Regions from separate parts of the Homo sapiens genome. Here region 1 is linked to region 2. The links are contacts of gene promoters, found by promoter capture Hi-C in human tissues and cell types (Jung and others, 2019). All regions are on one chromosome and are shown on one strand. Each heading gives the region's core, a stretch centred on a gene start or on the middle of the fragment in contact. The rest is flanking DNA. Distances are from core to core; before and after follow the strand shown. Region 1 overlaps PSKH1 (protein serine kinase H1). Region 2 holds the start of NRN1L (neuritin 1 like).

Region 1 (4,271 bases), core at 1,439-3,938, 33 kb after region 2:
GAGAAGTACCAGCCTCTGCCACTCCCTGGCAGAGCCCTGGTTTCTCTTTACTTTTCTGCATGGAGGTGAGGACAGACATCGCTAGAATGGGACCCAGCAATCACTCCTTCCAGCCACTCACTTCACAGCTAGACGGTCTCCTGGTAAGCAGAGGCAGCACCTCCTTCAAGCTCCTGCCAGCAACCTGGCATGCTTTTATAGCTCTATCCCAGGACACTAGGACAGGCATTTTTTGTTATTGTTGTTCTCCTGGCCACTGCCCACCCACAAGCACACCTGCTCACACCTGGGGAAAATGCAAGAGACGTGAAGGCCTGTTCTTCCTATCCCTAGAGGTTGAGATTGCCTGGGGAGAAGGAACTAGAATAGGGAATGGCCATAGAATGAACCCGCATTGGCAGACACATGTGAACACAGGCCTTGGCATAGAGCCACTGGGCCTGGGCAGTCTGGAACATGGACTATGGTGCTCAGGTCAGGTGGTTGGGCCCTGACCCCACCCACTCCAGCCATCTGTCCTATATGTGTAATAGGTGTTTGCCATTAGGAAGGCCATGTAAGTGAGCAAGCCTCTGCCAGGATAACCTGTGAGAGAGAGAGTGTTCCATGATGAGGGGGTTGTTGCTGTGTGAATGAAGGACCTCTGACGCAGCAGCGTTTGGAGGTATGCATTCTTCACCAGCGAGTGTCTCGTGGTGCTTGGTGCCTTTCTAGGGGCACCTTTCCTGTTCCCTGACCCCATAGAGTGCTCTCCCCTGTACACCAGGCCGGGTCTGGTGTGCCTATTTCCTGCAAGCTCTGTCCATGCAGCCCCAGTCCTCTGTCAGGCTCAGTGGCATCCATGGACTTGAATAGAAAGCTTCCTGCAGAAGATGAGTTTTGAGAAGGAGGAGGCCCAGAGAAGGGAGCATTGCTGAGTGCTCCAGAATAAACAGGAGATTGGGAGTGACAGAGCAGAGGTTGAAGAGGCTGGGGCAGGTCTGGTGTTTGTTGTTGGGAGCCCTCTGCACTGTGGGAGGAGCCCTCTGGGTTCTGGGTAATGGAGGAGGAAGGCAGCAGAAAGTGGGAATGGAGCCTGGCAGGAGGAAGGCTAGCTGGAGGCTACTGGAATAATTCCATCCTGTCCTCCTGGGGATGTTTGGGGCAGATCAGGGATCCCAGGGAGTGGGATCCACATGGCATATGTAAGCCACAGTATAGGAGGTGAAGGAGTATGGAGCAGAGTCCTAGCTCTGCAGGAGGGACATCAGCTTGTATGGGCAGACTTGGAGAGGATTCCAGGCTACCCTCTGACCTGGAGAGCATGTGGGGTCCTGCCTACCATCCTGGCACTCCAGATCCCCCAGCCTGAAGCCCATGCCCTAGACCCCACCCCACTCCCTGCACACCACAGGCCTGAGCCATTGCCCCCATTCACTCTCCACACCAAGCTTCTGCCTCAACTGTTCACGCTGCTCCCAGTATCGGTCTTAGTTGTTTCCTTTAGAAATAATGCTGCCTACTGCCATTGTGTGGTGCCCACTAAGTAGCAGACCCAGGGCTGAATGTTCTACACCCCCCATCTCCAATCTATGACAACCCTGCCAGGTGGTACGTAATCCCCCACCTTACAGATGAGGAAACTGAGGATGGTGAGGTTACATAACTTGGCCATGGTCTCCCGACTGGAGGGTGGCACATCTGGGATTTGATTCCAGGCTGTCTTGGCTTCAGAGTTCTTGGCCTGTCTAGTGCTGCAGTCTGCTCTCCCTGGTATGTGTGCCTCAGCACGTTGCTGGTTTCTTGTTTCAGTGCTTTCTGGCTGCTGATCAGTGGACACATCTCTCCTGTCTAGCCTGTAGGGTCCTTGAGGACAGCATGTACATCAATACATATGCTGTCCACTGTCGTGTCCAGGCTTAGTGCACAGTGGTACCTGTATGCTGGGTTGAACTGCAGTATTTATAAGTGATAACTGGTGGGGGAATTTTCTCTTGGCTTCTCCTGAGGGAAGCACCAGTGGCTATTGGTGATGCCCTGGGAAGCGTCCCAAATGTGACTGCTGGCAGGCAGACAGGCTGTGCAGCCAGTGGAGTGCTCCCCTCAAGGGGCCAGACTCCAGGAGGAAGCAGAGAGCCTGCTGGCAATGCGCTTAGGGGGCTGCTGGCCACAGCTGCCTGTGGGCACAGGCAGGGGGAGGATTTAAAGGCCCAGGGCTGGTGTGTGCTTGTCAACTTTTAGGGCAAATACAAGACTCTTGGAAGAGGGGTAAATGCTGAGGAGGAGATGACTGGAAAGGAAAAATCTGAATGTTTACCCAGCACCCAGAGGCACTGGAGTGGAGAGGGCACGCTGGAGTGGAGAGGGCATGCTGGAAGTGGTGGGGAGACACAGGTTGGGAGAGGTAGCGAAGGCCTGTGTGAATGTGAGAGCAGTTTGAGGACACAGTCACCTTGAGAGGCGGCTTCCTATCACAGGAGGCCTGGAGGAGCTGTTTCTAAAGGATGACACAGAAGGTGAGTCATCAGCTACAGACTCATGCTAGAGAACTGTCAGGGTCCTCCAATGCAGAGAGTCTGTGATTCACTTGACATGAAATGTGACATCCTTGATGTCAGTGCTTTTGTCAAGAGTTCTATTCCTAGAGGCAGGACGGATGAAGGGGCTCTTGTAGGATTGATATTAGAGTGATGCCATTAGGAGCTTTGCTGTCTGCTGCATTCAGCATCCTGAATTATCACCCTCCTCTGCTTGGCCAGTCTCTGAGCTGTGGGTGAGCCCAGGTGACTGTACTAGGAACAGGTGGGCTTGGGTAGAATTTCTCACAGAGCCTTGTGAGTGCTGCTGGGCAGGGGACAGAGTACTGTTGGGAGAGGAAGCCCACCTTCATAGCCACTCTGCTGCTACCTGGGTGACAAGGGCTGGTGGGAGGTGGCCTCCCAGGGTTGGGTGTCTGGTCTGCAGGTTGACCATACATTGATCTGGGGCTAAGTATACCTGAAGGGGCAATGAGCTTGACCACCTGTAGTTCTTTTTTTTTTTTTTTTTGAGATGGAGTCTTACTCTGTCGCCCAGGCTGGAGTGCAGTGGTGTGATCTCGGCTCACCAAAGCCTCCACCTTTTGGGTTCAAGCAATTCTCCTGCCTCAGCCTCCCAAGTAGCTGGGATTATAGGTGCCAGCCACCACACCTGGCTAATTTTTGTATTTTTAGTAGAGACGGGGTTTTACCACGTTGGCCAGGCTGGTCTGGAACTCCTGACCTCAGGTGATCTGCCTGCCTTGGCCTCCCAAAGTGCTGGGATTACAGGTGTGAGCCACCACACTCGACCTCCCCACTTCTTAAAGTGACTCTAACATGCCTTGGGATGTAGAAGATAAAATGAGATGCAGAGAATGTGGCATGTCTCAGTGCTCTCTAGGTGACGGGGCTTGGTTATGCAGCCTGGTCCTATGCTCTGACTTTCTGTCTCCCTCCCTGCCCCTCATCTCCCCGCATATGTCACAAGGAGCAGCCATGTGAGCAGGGATAGGACCTCATCCCAGAGTCATGGGGAGCGCTGTCCGGGTGTCTGGAGAGCAGGAGACCAAATGTATATGCTGGTGGCAGAGTGGAGGCAGGGAAGCGGGGAGCGTGTTTCCTGGCTTATGCTTGGATTCTCCTGGATGCTTTAATTGCCTGACTTTTCTCACCTTCAGTGTGGGTGGGGACTGTGATGGACCCATCAGCTCAACTCTCTTCTCACTGACCCCTGCTCCCAGAGTCAGAGGATGGCTTTCCCACGACTGTCTCAATAGCTGACAGCACGAGCAAACACAAATCAGTTTAGAATTCTTTGCTATGAGGCATCTGTCCCTAAGCCCTTCTTCCCTGCCAGCCTGCTGGGGCTGCTGCATGTCAAGTGCTGGATGCTTGTGCTGTCTGTGTGTGAGGATCCCATGAGGATGATCAGATGCCCCCATACCTGGCCAGGAAGGTTCCCTTGGGAAAAGCCATCCCCACTTCACCAAAACACGAAGTGTTCAACAGATTAAGTCTCCCTCCTTCACTGCAGGAGCCAATGCCCTCAGGCTGGATTCCTGACTAGTCACTGGGAGGTGGCATGGTTTGGGCCACTGGATGGAGGCAGTGGACCCTCAGTTGGTCACTGTGGCTGGGGACCTGCCCTTGGTTGGAGACCTCTGGCAGGAAGGCAGAGGAAGCTCTCTCCATGTGAGGCCAGAGGAAGCTCTGAGTGGAGAAGAGCAGCAGCCCCATCTTGTGTCACCTCTGTGCCACCACTGGGCTCCCCAG
Region 2 (4,076 bases), core at 178-2,677:
GCTCTCACTAGCCCACCCTGTGGTCATCCTCCCCCAGGCCACACAGTTCAGACAAGCAGACATTCCATCCTGATATTTGCTATAAACACTGCTGCTTTTTTCTCCTCCAGGCGCTGACAGCTGCTGACCTGAACCTGGTGCTGTATGTGTGTGAAACTGTGGACCCAGCCCAGGTTTTTGGGCAGCCACCCTGCCCGCTCTCCCAGCCTGTGCTCCTTTCCCTCATCCAGCAGCTGGCATCTGACCTTGGCACTCGAACTGACCTCAAGCTCAGGTAAGTGGGGACAGCCAGGGATGGGGAGATGAGCTGGGGAGTGGGGCAGTGGGAGGGAGCAGTTTGAAGCTGACGCCCACTTCTGCCTGAATCCTCTCCCTAATTTTCTCCACCAGTCCTTTCTGCCTTCACCCAGAGGGTTCCCTCTGGGCCTCGGTGCCACCAGGGGGCGCTCCCGTCTGCTGGCACCCACCTGTAGCCTGTCCTTTCCCCCCCATCCCCAGCTACCTGGAAGAGGCCGTGATGCACCTGGACCACAGTGACCCCATCACTCGGGACCACATGGGCTCCGTTATGGCCCAGGTGCGCCAAAAGCTTTTTCAGTTCCTGCAGGCTGAGCCACACAACTCACTTGGCAAAGCAGCTCGGCGTCTCAGCCTCATGCTGCATGGCCTCGTGACCCCCAGCCTCCCTTAGCTGCTAAGCCTGCCTTGCCCAGGGGTGGGATGGCACTGAAGGCCAGCAGACAGGCCTAGGCTGGGGCAGGGTCACGGCTGGCCTTTACCTGCTCAGGCCCCCATCTCTGGGGTGTTTGGGGGTCAGGGAGCAGGGAGCACTGGCCGTGGTCTACAGCGTGTGGTAGTCAGAAGGTTTAGCTGGGCCCAGGGCAGGTATTGCGCCTGCTTGGGTTCTGCCATGCCTGGAGCATGACCCTGAGATCGTGACACCACTTGAGTGGAATTTTCCATGTTCCTTTTTACCTCTAATTTGGATCTTTTTGTTTTTGAAAAACATTGAGAAATTCAATTAAATGCTTTTGGAATAAAATGGAGTATGTGTGTGCTTTTGGTTTGTCTTTGGTGTGACTCTCATAACTGCCGTCTGTTCGTTCTCTGCCCATCTCTTGCCCGTGGAGCTCTGTCGAGGCCAACCCAGCCAAGGGGCCGGGTTACCCACTCATCTGCTCCAACTGCCTTCCCAGATCTCCCTTCTCCCTCCTTCTATGGAGTGAGGGTCCAGGGGCCTGCCCAGCACCAGCCTGTGCTCCTGCGAATTTCTGCTCTCTGAGGTCTCCTCGCTCCTTTTCCCATCTGGGTGTTGGAGGCGGAGCCGCCGGCTGGGTTCGGAGCCCCACCCCCAGCTCCCATCCAATCACCGTCCCTCCCTCCGGGGGCTGGGCGGACGGGCTGCACTCCAAGCAGCTAGCTCCTGCACTAGGCTCTCAGCCAGGGATGATGCGCTGCTGCCGCCGCCGCTGCTGCTGCCGGCAACCACCCCATGCCCTGAGGCCGTTGCTGTTGCTGCCCCTCGGTGAGTGCGGGCATCCGGGGCCCGGGCCACACCCCCTTCTCGCCCAGCCAAGCCAGGCTGGGCATAGGGTGTGTGGGAACGCTGGGTGCCAGGGTGGAGAAGAGTTGTAAGGGCTCCAGGAAGGTGTGCTGGTGACTTCAGGACAGAAAGTGAGAGGCACAAACAGCCCCAGTTATGGGAGAAGGACTCCAAAATTTGCATCCCCTCTTATGATAAAGGGAGACATGCCAATGGCAGGACTTATAGACCAGTCGTAGGATCCCTAAGTCCTCTCTGAGGGTCTGGCCTGGATCCCAATACCTCTGCATCCTGCCTTGTCTCTCCAAAAATATTTATCTTTAGAGAGAGTTCGGAGGGCCAAGCAAAGCTTGTCTAAACCGCAGAGAGATGCACCTGCTCCTGGTCCGGGGCCTCTGGACCTCCCTCCCCTCCACCCTGTCCTGACTCCTTTACATGGACCCTTGTCACCCCACCTGCGGCCCCAGAAGCTCAAAGGAAGAGCTGACCTGGGGTACACAACACCCCCTTCCCCTGTACAAATCCCAGTCTGGGTCCTACCTTGAAGGGGGCCTGGGTAGGTAATCCCCAGACTTGCCCTTTAGTTCCCTGGGGCACCCTTTTTCCGCTGAGTCACATCCCCAGAGTGCTCCCAGGTAAACAAGCCCCTGGGGGCTGGGGGATGAGCCTGGCTCATCCTATCTACCATTCCTTCCCCACCCCACCCCCGCCCCACTTCTAGTCCTTTTACCTCCCCTGGCAGCAGCTGCAGCGGGCCCAAACCGATGTGACACCATATACCAGGGCTTCGCCGAGTGTCTCATCCGCTTGGGGGACAGCATGGGCCGCGGAGGCGAGCTGGAGACCATCTGCAGGTACCGGCGGGTGTGAGGCAGTGGCCCAACCTGTGCCACCATTGGGGACTGAACCTTTTATTTCCCAAGCTAAAGTCTCCTTGCCTCACCTAATCCCCCTAATCCCACTCCCTTAACAGGTCTTGGAATGACTTCCATGCCTGTGCCTCTCAGGTCCTGTCAGGCTGTCCGGAGGAGGCAGCTGCAGTGTGGGAATCACTACAGCAAGAAGCTCGCCAGGCCCCCCGTCCGAATAACTTGCACACTCTGTGCGGTGCCCCGGTGCATGTTCGGGAGCGCGGCACAGGCTCCGAAACCAACCAGGAGACGCTGCGGGCTACAGCGCCTGCACTCCCCATGGCCCCTGCGCCCCCACTGCTGGCGGCTGCTCTGGCTCTGGCCTACCTCCTGAGGCCTCTGGCCTAGCTTGTTGGGTTGGGTAGCAGCGCCCGTACCTCCAGCCCTGCTCTGGCGGTGGTTGTCCAGGCTCTGCAGAGCGCAGCAGGGCTTTTCATTAAAGGTATTTATATTTGTAGTAAGCTCCTTCCTTTCTCCTGGCTGTGGCCTTGCTTGCGGCTGGGGCCAGGGACTCCTAGAAACTGATCCTTTGCTTGGATGGAATGGGCGGGGCTGAGGGCCACCACAGGGGCCCTCAATCTTCCTCCTTACAAACACTCATTTCCCAGTGGCAGCGCAAAGCTTTCCATTTCATGCAGGCCCCAAGAGCTCCTCCAGTGGAGACTGGAGATCTGCCAGAATGCACAGTCTTCCTCTACCTTCCTGTGCGGGTTGAGATCGGGAGGGTGGGGTCTCAGCCCTGCACTCCTAGCACTGCCTACCCCTTCTATCCTGGCCCCTGGGGGCCAGGTGAGCTGGTGAAGTGCCCTTGATCTCAGCTCCACCCCCTCCCCAGCCTCTGGGCTCCTGACCATTTCACCTCCTCCTCTCTCTGCCTGTCACCTCAGCCTTCAAGGCATAGCACAGACTATGTGCTCAGTCCCTTCCTCTGGTTTTCTGGTCTATCTGAGGGAGGCCTGTTCTAGAAGGTGGGGAGCCTTTGTTGAAGTCCACATTCAAGCCCCTGATGTGACCTGAAGTGGCAAAAACTGGAGTCACCATAAGGGTTCCTCTGGCCTCTGCTCTCCACAAGCTTGTTCTTTGAGAAGAGGTAGGCAGTGTGTAGTCAAAACAATTGCAGAAGGCTTTCTGGAAGCCGTGGAACAAGAGCATGTGGTGTGCGAGGAGCCCCTCTTCATACCGGTGGAAAGGAAGAGCAAAATCAGCTAGGCAGAGGAATCTGAGGAAGGAGAAAGCCTTCTGGGGGTAGGACCCTCTTCTGATCAGCCTTCTCCCACCACCGCCAGGATCCTATTCCAAGCCATTACCCCACGGTTTACAGAGGCACTGCCATAGTCTCCTCATTGACTTCTATTATCACTCCCTCCACTTTATTCTTTACTTTTTTTTTTTTTCTTGTCACCCAGGCTGGAATGCAGTGGCACAATCTCGGCTCACTGCAACCTCTGCCTCCCGGGTTCAAGCAATTCTCCTGCCTCAGCCTCCCTAGTAGCTGGGATTACAGGTGCCCGCCACCATGCCCGACTAATTTTATATTTTTAGTAGAGATGGGTTTGCCATGTTGGCCAGGCTGGTCTCGAACTCCTAACCTCAGGTGATCTGACCCCCGCGGCCTTCCAAAG

What was found. The method cuts DNA at HindIII sites, captures the fragments that hold promoters and counts their contacts. A contact is called where the count stands out against the background at its distance.
Region 1: a contact is called between a fragment that was not itself captured here and the fragment with the promoter of NRN1L in region 2, in 6 of the 25 tissues and cell types used here (IMR-90 fibroblasts, dorsolateral prefrontal cortex, mesenchymal stem cells and 3 more).

The regions. Positions count from the first base shown.
Region 1 is chr16:67,915,583-67,919,853 of GRCh38, forward strand. The region is part of intron 2 of PSKH1 (protein serine kinase H1); the gene reads left to right. Among named protein-coding and RNA genes, the nearest start is that of CTRL, 14 kb to the right of the region's middle. RefSeq lists enhancers at 134-657, 3,810-4,271. The HindIII fragment of the contact is 5,309 bases long and covers 35-4,271 here.
Region 2 is chr16:67,883,458-67,887,533 of GRCh38, forward strand. It overlaps NRN1L (neuritin 1 like), which reads left to right and starts at 1,428. Exons shown (of 3, transcript NM_198443.2): 1 at 1,428-1,525; 2 at 2,265-2,397; 3 at 2,517-2,911. The coding sequence starts at 1,447. The coding sequence ends at 2,802. EDC4 (enhancer of mRNA decapping 4) reads left to right here. Exons shown (of 29, transcript NM_014329.5): 28 at 111-274; 29 at 499-1,042. The coding sequence ends at 691. RefSeq lists enhancers at 520-699, 1,005-1,514, 1,515-2,022. The HindIII fragment of the contact is 2,833 bases long and covers 1-2,483 here.